Regions from separate parts of the Homo sapiens genome. Here region 1 is linked to region 2. Evidence: promoter capture Hi-C in 16 types of primary human blood cells and fetal thymus (Javierre and others, 2016). All regions are on one chromosome and are shown on one strand. Each heading gives the region's core, a stretch centred on a gene start or on the middle of the fragment in contact. The rest is flanking DNA. Distances are from core to core; before and after follow the strand shown.

Region 1 (5,001 bases), core at 2,480-4,979, 120 kb after region 2:
ACCTTGTAAAATATCTGACACAATATTAAATAAAATAGCTGAAAGAGAAAGAAAAATATAAACCACATAACAAAAACTCAATAAGCGAAGTTTTTAAAACTATAAATTAGAAAACAAACAAATAGCTTGCACTAAAGGTAGAGTGTGGAAAACCACCATTTTGAAAGTCACATACTACAATTCAGGAAACATAACATGTAGTGACATTAAAGAGGCAAATCTCATATCCAGATTTCTGCCTTGTGTTATGTATGAGCTGAGAGGAGAAAAAGATATTTTTAAAAAAACAGATTTCTGTCTTATGGATTACTGACAGAACAAGTGAATTCTCATCTAAATTCATAAGGGTAATGTTTTAAGTTACAGACTCTGAATTTCAAAAGAACTCGAAGTTTCGAATCTTCACATGGCTGATCATTTTATCACTGAATGGAGAAAATTTCAATTAAAAGGAGAATGTCTTCTTGAAGAAAGGAAACACTTGTTTAAAAAGCATTTTCTCCAATTTCTGTAAACTGAATTTCAAAAAATGTTCTAAGTGTAGACAAAATTTCAGTCAACATTTCTTGAATTATCTACATTGTCAGGCATTTTAAAACATATTTTATATAAGTTGAAATGAAGGCTGTGTTTATAACATTTATTGACATAATTTGATTCCTAAAGTGGAGCAACTGTTTTCTAAAGTTTAGGGGAAGTTTCTTTCTTATTAAAATAATAGATACTGAAGGTTGCTGAACAATCAGATGTTCACAGTCTCCATCCAGAGAAATGTAGAGAACTACAAACTTAACAAGGTAACAATTGCTATATATTTTTGCTTGGGTTTCTTATAAACAATACAAGTAGACTAAAATACTATGCATCATTTAGCAATAAATAAATGATAGTGATGTTAATGTTTAATGAATGACTAACAACTAAATTGGTTTTCAAGTGTTATGGCAGCATAGCATCAGAAATTCAATGTCACTTTAATCACAAATTTAAATAAAATTGATTCAGCACCCAAAAAATATCTATTTAATATACAGTTTATAATTCTCACTAGAAGTCAAGACAAAGTCGGCTCCAATGTTAAGGGGTTTACTTTATCAGAAAAAAAATCTGCTGGATTTCTAGAAAAATGAATAAAACTATTTGAACGGCCCCTGGGAGTAATCGATAATATCTTTCAAGAAAAAAAATTATATAAATAAATAAAATGCTAGAAAAACCCACCTTCCCAGTTGAATCTGAGGAAGCAGAGGGTTCTCCCGTTCGCTCTGTAGATCCAGCACAAGGAGAAAGGCCCGGGCTGAAGGCCATGAGGTCGGTCTTCTGCTTACCCTCGCCAGAGCACACCCTCTGCCTCCTCTGCTGCGAGTACGACCAACTCCCCACCGCGCTAGAACACACCAGCGTCGGCTTGCCAGGCGCGCACTCGCCCTCGGTGGGCATCGCCGAGCACCGCAGCACAGTGTACAGCAGCAGCGTGAGAACCAACAGGCTAGACACCGCGCAGATGGCGATGATCAGGTACACGTTGACATCCACCAGCGTCACCTCGGGGCCCGTGGCACCCACTGACGCCCGCGACGATGACTTTGGCGCCTGGCCGCTCTCCACCAGCGACACCAGCACAGTGGCCGTGGCCGTCAGCGCTGGCTCCCCGTGGTCTTTCACCAGCACCAGTAGGCGCTGGCGCGGTGCGTCCGTTTCGTCCAGGGCACGCGTTGTGCTGATCTCGCCCGTGTACAGCCCCACGCGGAACGGGATGCTCGCGCTGGCCGTTTCTGGCTGCAGCTCGTATGAAAGCCACGCGTTGTAGCCCGAGTCGGCGTCCACTGCGCGCACCTTCCCCACCACTACGCCGGCGCCCACCGACCGCAGCACCATCTCGCTCACTGCGCCGTCAGTGCCCCTCATCCGAGGTGTCAGCAGCGCCGGCGCATTGTCGTTCTCGTCCAGCACGAACACCTGCAGCGTCACGTTGCTGCCCAGAGGCGGCACGCCCGCGTCGCGCGCGCTCACCTGGAACTGTAGCAGCTCCAGCTCCTCGTGGTCCAACGGCTGCAGCGCGTACACCTTGCCGCTCTCCGCGTGCACTGACACGTAGCTCGACAGCGAGCGCTCGCCCAACCGCCGCTCCACCAGCGAGTAGGACACCAGGGCGTTCTCCTGCGCGTCAGCGTCCCGCGCAGACACCGTGAAGATGTGGCAGCCCGGCGGGTTGTTCTCCTTCACGAACACCGTGTACTCGGACTGCGCGAACGCTGGTGCGTTGTCGTTCACGTCGGCCACCTCCACAGACACCCTGGCCGTGGCCCACAGTGAAGGCGAGCCCCCGTCCCGCGCGGTAACCACCAGCTCGTAGGCGGACACACTCTCGCGGTCCAGAGCTCTGTCCAGCACCAACGAGTAGTAATTCTTGTAGGTGGACACCAGCTTGAAGGGGACGTGGGGCGTCAGGGAGCAGGTAACCTGCCCGTTGGCATCTGCGTCTAGGTCGATCACACTAATCAGGGCAATAACTGTCCCCAGTTGTGCGTCCTCTTTTACAGGAACCGAGAGCGTTTTGATAGTCAACTGTGGAGCATTGTCATTTACATCCACAACTTCCACAAGAAGTGTACAATGACCAGCCAGGGGTGGGAAGCCTTTATCGACAGCCTCGACTGGGATCTTGTGTGCTCTACTTTCTTCAAAATCCATATGTCCTATCACTGTGATTGCCCCACTTAAGGGGTCCATGTGGAACTTGGATTTTATATCTGGAGAAACATCACTGGAGAAGGAGTAAATAATATCCCCATTCAAGCCTTCGTCTAAATCTGAGGCATTGGGGTGAATCACCAGCGTTCCGATAGAAACGTTTTCTGGTAATTTCACCGTATACAGGGTTCTGTCGAACACTGGGGCATTGTCATTGTTGTCCAGTACCGTGATGAGTAATTGAACGGTGCCAGTCAGCTCGGGTTTGCCTCCATCGGTGGCCGTGAGCAATAAATGAAGCTCCGGAGTTTCTTCTCTGTCTAAAAGTTTCCGTAATACAAGTCCAAGAGGTTTTACCTGCTGGTTGCTGGTTGGCACGTCCAGGAAGAAATACTCATTGGGGCTCAGTCTGTAAGTGAGCAGGGCGTTCTCCCCGATATCTGCATCGGACGCGCCCTCTAGTGGAAACCGAGAGTCAAGCGGCCTGGATTCCGCGATGAACAGATTCTTTTGTGTCGCTGGGAACACTGGAGGGTTGTCGTTAATGTCCTTCACCTCCACGTCCACATGGAAAACCTGCAGCGGCCTGTCTACGATCACCTCCAGGTGGATGCTGCACTCCGCGCTCCGCCCGCACAGCTCCTCGCGGTCGATCCGAGAATTCACAAACAAAATGCCATTCTGCAGATTTACCTCCAGAAGGTCCCCGCGGCCTTTGGAATCCAACTGGAACAGGCGCGGCACCAGCTCCGCCAGCTCCAGCCCCAGGTCCTGCGCGATGCGGCCCACGAAGGTGCCGTGTTCGGCTTCCTCCGGGACGGAGTAGTGGAGCTGGCCGCTCCCCACCACCCACATTGCGAGGATCAGAAGCGAGAGCAGTAGAGGCTGACCCTCTGGATCTCCTCGACTTGAGTATAACATTTCAAATACTCAGTCTTCTTCTAATTAGTGAAAATTGCCTCCAAATTAGAAGAAATCATCTGATTTCGTCAGTCCCATTCTGCTGTGTTCGCCATCGTTCAGCACAGAGAGAGTGAAAAAGAATTGAGCCTCTTTCCCATGGGAAAAGGGCTGTATTTGTCTGGATTCAGAGAGAACATCGCGGCAAAGAGTGACATCACGTGGCCCAAAGTGTAAGTACATATTTCATGAATAAAAATTTCACAGTTATTCTGCAAAACTTATTTCATTTTCTTAATTTTTTCTTAAGTAATGATTGTTGAAACAGAAGATCCCGTTTCTCTTGCTGGAGCCTTCTTAGCAGACTGACTGCCTCTAAAAGTTTTGTATGACCTTGATTGTGGTTTTCTTATCCCTGAGAAAACTCTCCACTTAAGTTTTAAATAACGACAGAAATGAAGTAACAATTAAAATGATTCCATTGAGCAATCACGAATTTTAAATTACAAAATTCTTTTGTTCTGGAATTCAGAATCTCCCATATGGCTCGAAATAGGATTCTAGTGTAAGAGAAATCCAGGAGTTGCAATCTCTAGTGAATATAGGAGCCCAGAAATCTACTGATGAAAAAGAAACTTAGTCATGTCTGGTAAAAGGAATCAACAAAAAGTAGCAACCAACTGAGGTAGTTTTCTTGAGTAATTCTATGAATTGAAAAGGTATAAAATATTGCAAGAAAAGCGAGAATTGACTTTAAGGTCTTGTGTTGCGTGGGGAGAAAATATATTTTTCTCTTTTGTAGCATTTATACAATCTGTTTCCAGAAATGTGTTGTTTTGATTCTTTCCAAGCTTTATAATCTATGAATAATCTCTTCTTTGTAGTCTCCAATATAGTTTGTGTAATGTTATTACAATATGTTTTAATTTCATTATTGCTCATCCTTAGTACTCGGGGCAATTTCTGTTTTTAAAGCTATGCTTGAGATTCTTTTCCTGACTAAGTTCTACAAAGTTTTGTTGTGAGTTTTACTATCTTATTCCAACGTCCAAGTCGATTAATTAAATCTAGATTTTAGTGTATCTCAAGTCTAAAGGCAAAACCGTGAGTGTTTATTGTGCCATTAATGTTTTTGCATATTTATCTTTTATTTCGTATTTCTACTGATAACAGCCTAAGAGGTGCATTTAACAATTGCTTCTGTCCTTGATTACTGCAGGAGCTTCTGAGTTTGTCTTCCCGTTCAACCTTCTTTCAAAAGTCGTGATTTATTTTGCTCAAGGTAGTTAAATAGCTCCCAATTAATTCTAAAGAGTGGCCAAATTCCTTAATCACTCATGGCCCTTTAGTTTATTACTCAGAAATCAAGAGATCTTCTTACATTGGTTTTCCTGCTTTCATTCTCTG
Region 2 (5,340 bases), core at 2,784-5,283:
AATTTATGTACATTCTTCATAATAATGAACAAGCTGGCCTTATACCTACTTAAATCTCAAAACTAGTGCATATACTAACACCTGCCTCTACACCTTACTGTAGGGTAAGCCATCCACTTTCCAAGCCAGCCTTTTGAAGCTATAGCAAATCAAATTTTAGATCCAGAAAATGAATGCATGCTTTGGAAGTACTGTCATTTAACTTAAAGACATGAAGGACTTGAAAAGGCTACTTTACATCTCATCAAAACCATAGAAACTGTCAACAGAAAATCAGAAGATTACAGGCTGCATTTAAGCTAAATTCAGGGAAATCCTCTTACAATGAATTCAGAGTATGCCAAGAAAGGTGACTATTGGGAGAATTCTTTTTCCCTTCTCTTCCTTCTAATCCCAGCTTCTCTTGGTCTTCACCATCCCCCCACACCCCTAATCCACTCATTCTAATACCTCCCTGGACCAACCAGACAAATTGGTACTTAATCTCTCTGCCTCACCATCATCCACTCCCTCTGACAGCCCTCTACAGAAGAGTTGCCACATCATACAGCCAAAGCAAACTTTAGCTTCAGTATGATGTCTAAATACTACAGCTTTATCACTTGTGACATGCATTTCCAGAGGATCCTATCACATAGGTTCAGTGCAAGTACCAGAAATATTAACTAGATAATTTCCACTGTAGACAGTCCAGAGTATAAACAGAGACAGCAGATAGTGGTGACTATGATAGCCCCTAGAGGCCTCAGAGCTTTTTAAGAAACATCACTCATATAGGATTTCAAAAGAAAAATTTCCCTGTAGATGATACAGCAGAGGCCATTTCTCCTTGAGTCTCATAACATTACTCCCTAAAACATAATCCCTATTCCAAGGCCTGTCCTGTTTCTCTACAAATCTGTGTTTTAGCATTAAATATTAAGACTAATCCTCACTTCTCAAACAATTTTATGGACAAGGCTTCATGCCTCTGAAAATGAAAAATAAAACAATTCTTTAGTGCTATTTTTCTAGAGAGGAAATAGCAGATTATGATCAAATTGTGGATACTATATATACTCAGTTTACCAGATAACTCTTGTCACTGTTAATGACTCAATAAAGCCAAATCACAGGATATTGGGGGATGTGTAACAAATGCATGAGTTTGTAGAAGACCCCCTGACCACTGTCTCACCTCATTTTGAGAAACAGCCTCATTTTTGAGAATAATCAGGTTCCCAGCATTCTGACCACTTTGGCCTGTGAGATTCCTGCTGTCAGTCACTGCTGCTTGGGCTCCCGAAGGCCCTGGTCCTGTCTGGGCCCCTGTATTGTAAAACATGAAAGTGTCACTCCCTGAGCCTGCTGTCAGACAGGCCTTGTAGCAGTAGGTCTTGGTGAGGGAGCCATTCCCTCGAACTTCAATGAAGTGAGGCTGCACTTTGAGGCCATGCGGTATCCTGGCATCAATATTGTTGTTGGCTTGTTTGTACAGTTCTGCAGGGGACCTTTCCCTTACTCCACAGAAGCCTCCACAGCATGCAGTGCCATACGCAGTGTAGCGGTAGCACTTGATGATGCTCAAAATGATGATTGTCAAAAGAAATATAAAAGACACTGTGCTTAATGCTATTATTAGATAAAGGGTAATTTCAGAGTATGTCCGAGGGCTCTTAACATGCCTCTGAGTGTCAGGGAGGATTTTGGAAACCCTATCCACCACAGCTACTGTAATGGCCACAGAGGCTGATAGTGATGGCTCTCCATTATCTCGGACCACCACGGTCAGGTTGAAAGTGCTACCACTCTCATCTCCCATCTTCCTGGTAGTCCTAATTTCTCCTGTGTGCAGCTCTACCTTAAAGAGGTCCAGGTCAGAAGTCTGGGCTAGATGGTAAAAAAGCCAAGCATTTTGCCCAGAGTCTGAGTCCATAGCTATGACTTTGGTGACCAGGTAGCCAGCAGGGGCAGTTCGAGGCACCATCTCGAAGGCTGCTGACGAGTTGGTTGAGGTAGGGTACAGAATGTGAGGGGCATGGTCATTCATGTCCACCACATATACGTTGGCAGTCACAGTGCTGCTCAGTGGTGGGCTCCCCTTGTCCTGAGCCTCCACAGTCACAAAGAACTCCCGAAACTTCTCATAGTCAAAGGAGTTGACAGCATAAAGGCTGCCACTGGCACTGTTAATGGAGACATAGGAGGTGACTGGCAGCCCTTGAATCTCCCTCTCCAGAAGGGAGTAGGTCACCTCTGCATTCTCCTTTTCATCTGGGTCTGTGGCTTGCACAGTACAGAGCAACACACCTGGCAAATTGTTCTCCTGTATGTAGATGGAATAGGAGTCCTCCAGGAAGCTTGGTGGATTGTCATTGATGTCAGAGATCTCAACCTTCAGTGTACGCAGGGATGTGAGCTGCGGTATTCCCCCATCTGTGGCTGTCACCGTGATGTTGTAGACAGCCACCCGCTCTCGGTCCAGTGGGCCGCTCACCACCAGTGTATAGGAGTTTCCAAAGCCATTCAGTCGGAAAGGCAGTGTGGCCTCCAGACCCAGGCTCACTTTCCGGTTGGGGCCTGAGTCTTGGTCATTGACACTGAGAACGGCCACAATGGTGTTGGGTGTAGCATTCTCAGGCACTGGGCTATACAGGTCCGTGAGCACCACCTCTGGGGCATTGTCATTCACGTCCACGATGTCCACCAGCACCTTGCAGTGACCTGCCATGGGCACTGGACCCCGGTCAGTCGCCTGCACATAGATCTGGTAGGAGGAGGCTTCCTCATAATCCAGCCCCCCAATTACTCGCACTTCCCCGGTACTGGCATCTATGCTGAAGAGCTGCCTCTCCCGGTCCGACGTGTAGCTGCTCAAGGAGTACCTGAGCTCACCATTGGAGCCCTCATCCGGGTCTGAGGCATTCAGCTTCACCACCAATGTGCCTGGGGGTGAGTCCTCCCGTAGCTGGACGCGATAAGTGGACTGGTCAAAGGCAGGAGAGTTGTCGTTAGTGTCCAGGACACGCACAGAGATCTGTGCCGTACCCGAGCGGGCTGGGATGCCCCCATCCACGGCTGTGAGAACCAGGTGGTGCAAGGCTGCCTGCTCCCGGTCTAGGCCCTTACGCAGCACCAGCTCAAGCACTTTACTGTTCTCCTGCAGGGGCTTAAGGTCCAGCTCGAAGTGCTCGCTGGGGCTGAGCTCGTAGGTCTGTACTGAGTTGGCGCCCACGTCGGGGTCCTGCGCACTCTCTATGTGAAAGCGCGCTCCAGGCGCCACCGATTCGCTTACCTGAAGCTGGTAGTTGGGCCGCGGGAAACGCGGTGAGTTGTCGTTGATGTCCAATATTTCCACCTCAACGGCGCTCACCGCCACGGGGTTGTGCGCCAGCACTTCCAAGCTGAGCAGGCAGCGAGGCCGCTGCTCACACAGCGCCTCCCGATCAATGCGCTCGTTGACGAAGAGCGCTCCACTCGTCAGGTCCAGCTCCAGGTAGCGCGGACTGGGCGCACCCAGATGGTTGATGCGCAAGCAACCCGGCCCCAAGCGCCGCAGCTCAAGCCCCAGCGCGCGAGCCACGTTGCCCACGAGCGCGCCGGGTGCCTGCTCCTCTGGCACAGAGTATCGCAGCTGGGAGGCCGCAGGGCCAGGTAGCAGCAGCAGCAACAGCAGCAGGAGAGGCAGTAGCAGCAGCCAGGGCATGGGCCGCCGGAGCCGTGGATGCTCTGTCGCCGCAGGTCTGGTGCCCGCCTGCTCCATAGCCACTGGCCGCGGCGGAGGCAGCCGGGCAGGGCCGGAGGCGGCAGCTTCCCCAGCCGTGCCCCACGCCCGGGCCCCGCCTCCGCTCGTGCCACCCTGCGCCTGCTCCCCCACCGCTCACGCTCTAGAAAGCGCCTGGGGCCGCTCCCTCCGTAGGCCCTCCCAAGGGCTCCTGGCCCCACCGTCCTCGCTGACTCCCCATATTCCAGCTCCTCCGCTCGCCTCCGAGTCGCTCAACCCGGCTCGGCTTCCTGCTGCTGCTGCCGCTACAGCTCCAGGGGGAGGGAAAAGGAAACAGAAGGGAAGACAGAGGGGGAGGGGGAAAGGGAGCGGTAGGAGGGCTCAGCAAGTCCTGCTCTGATTCCGCGCCGAAGTGGCGGACAGCGAACCCGGACTGCTCAGCCTCTCCAGCCCCATCTCCTTCACCCTGGACCTGCCGGATCCCAGCGGACCGCAGGAACACGGCCACTCCCTTTCTCCCTACCCCCACTGTCCAGTTCATCCAGTCTCCACCGTCTCTCCCCTGCTTAACGGGTCTTTAAGGAGATTAGTCTGGGAAAAGCAGTCAAGCCCCTAGAAGTCTGGCTATCAGCTCCCCAGGAAAAGATCTCCAAGCGCAATTCAGGAAAATAAACTGAGGGGCCTTAGCTAAGTATGGGCACCCAGGCGGCGGATCTAACATTAAAAGGAAACAACGCAGGGGGAGGCGCTCTGGGGTTACTGGCGATGGGAACTATTCACCTGACTCCCACATCTTCCCTGGACACTCTTAAGTACTGCAGAAAGTGCTCAACTCCTAGGGCAAAAGGAGGGGGATGGCAAATGCTGCCCTCTTTCCGGGAGCAAGCCTAAAACCAGCATCCTGGGATCCAAGACTCAATTCTGCTCTCGGCCAAGTGGCCCTTATTTTCAGTGTGTGCCTTGGCAAATAACCAATATTTAAATGTTTAAAATGCTCTGTTTAAAAAAATAGTCTCCATGAAGCTGTAGGCAAATCTATTATTTGACCCATTTTGGCGACAATGGGGAAAATCTGGTAAAATTTTTAAAGAGATTCTTCTCTCAAGCTTTTTCTAATCTTGCTTCAAATCTTTTACATTTATCACCCAAGACATTTTCTTTCAAGAGTAATTTAAAATTTTTTCTTTAATGGATGACAATGTCTTCAAGAGTCTGCAAAACCATTAAATCAAGAGCGTTACTGTTGATCTCCTAAGCCAGGCTGGAATTTGGATTCCATTAATGCTTTGCAGTTAAAAAAAAAAAAAAATCTGCTGTCATTAAGCAAAATGTGGGAGTCTGGGATTTATCTTACAATAACCAGCAATTTCAATGACTGCAGCTTATCTTCCTTAAATATAAGACTCCTTAGACTTCTGTTCTTCTGTGTCCCCAAGTTTCCTCTTGTACTGCTATAGAGGCAACACAGAGACAACAAATTCACTTCAGTAAAAGAGAAGGTAGAAGGATCAGAGGAAATCTTTCCATGCTGTGTCATTGCCTCTGCTGCTCAGTTCTGAATATTCACTCTTCCCAGGTTCTCACATTTCTTCCACAGGAATTTGAAATCTATTGCCTCATGTGCAAAAAAAGCACTC

What was found. Contacts are between HindIII fragments. The CHiCAGO score rates a contact against its expected background, and 5 or more counts as called.
Region 1: the fragment with the promoter of PCDHA9 here is called in contact with the fragment with the promoter of PCDHAC2 in region 2 in 1 of 17 cell types (neutrophils); the score reaches 7.2 in neutrophils.

Annotation. Positions count from the first base shown.
Region 1 is chr5:140,847,110-140,852,110 of GRCh38, reverse strand. PCDHA9 (protocadherin alpha 9) reads right to left here and starts at 3,729. Exons shown (of 4, transcript NM_031857.2): 1 at 1,222-3,729. The coding sequence starts at 3,615. All of the region lies in intron 1 of PCDHA1 (protocadherin alpha 1), which reads right to left. The region is part of intron 1 of PCDHA2 (protocadherin alpha 2); the gene reads right to left. All of the region lies in intron 1 of PCDHA3 (protocadherin alpha 3), which reads right to left. It also overlaps PCDHA4, PCDHA5, PCDHA6, PCDHA7, PCDHA8 and PCDHA@. The HindIII fragment of the contact is 21,410 bases long and covers 1-4,447 here.
Region 2 is chr5:140,965,169-140,970,508 of GRCh38, reverse strand. PCDHAC2 (protocadherin alpha subfamily C, 2) reads right to left here and starts at 4,033. Exons shown (of 4, transcript NM_018899.6): 1 at 1,178-4,033. The coding sequence starts at 3,742. All of the region lies in intron 1 of PCDHA1 (protocadherin alpha 1), which reads right to left. All of the region lies in intron 1 of PCDHA2 (protocadherin alpha 2), which reads right to left. The region is part of intron 1 of PCDHA3 (protocadherin alpha 3); the gene reads right to left. It also overlaps PCDHA4, PCDHA5, PCDHA6, PCDHA7, PCDHA8 and PCDHA9, and 6 more genes. The HindIII fragment of the contact is 2,470 bases long and covers 2,342-4,811 here.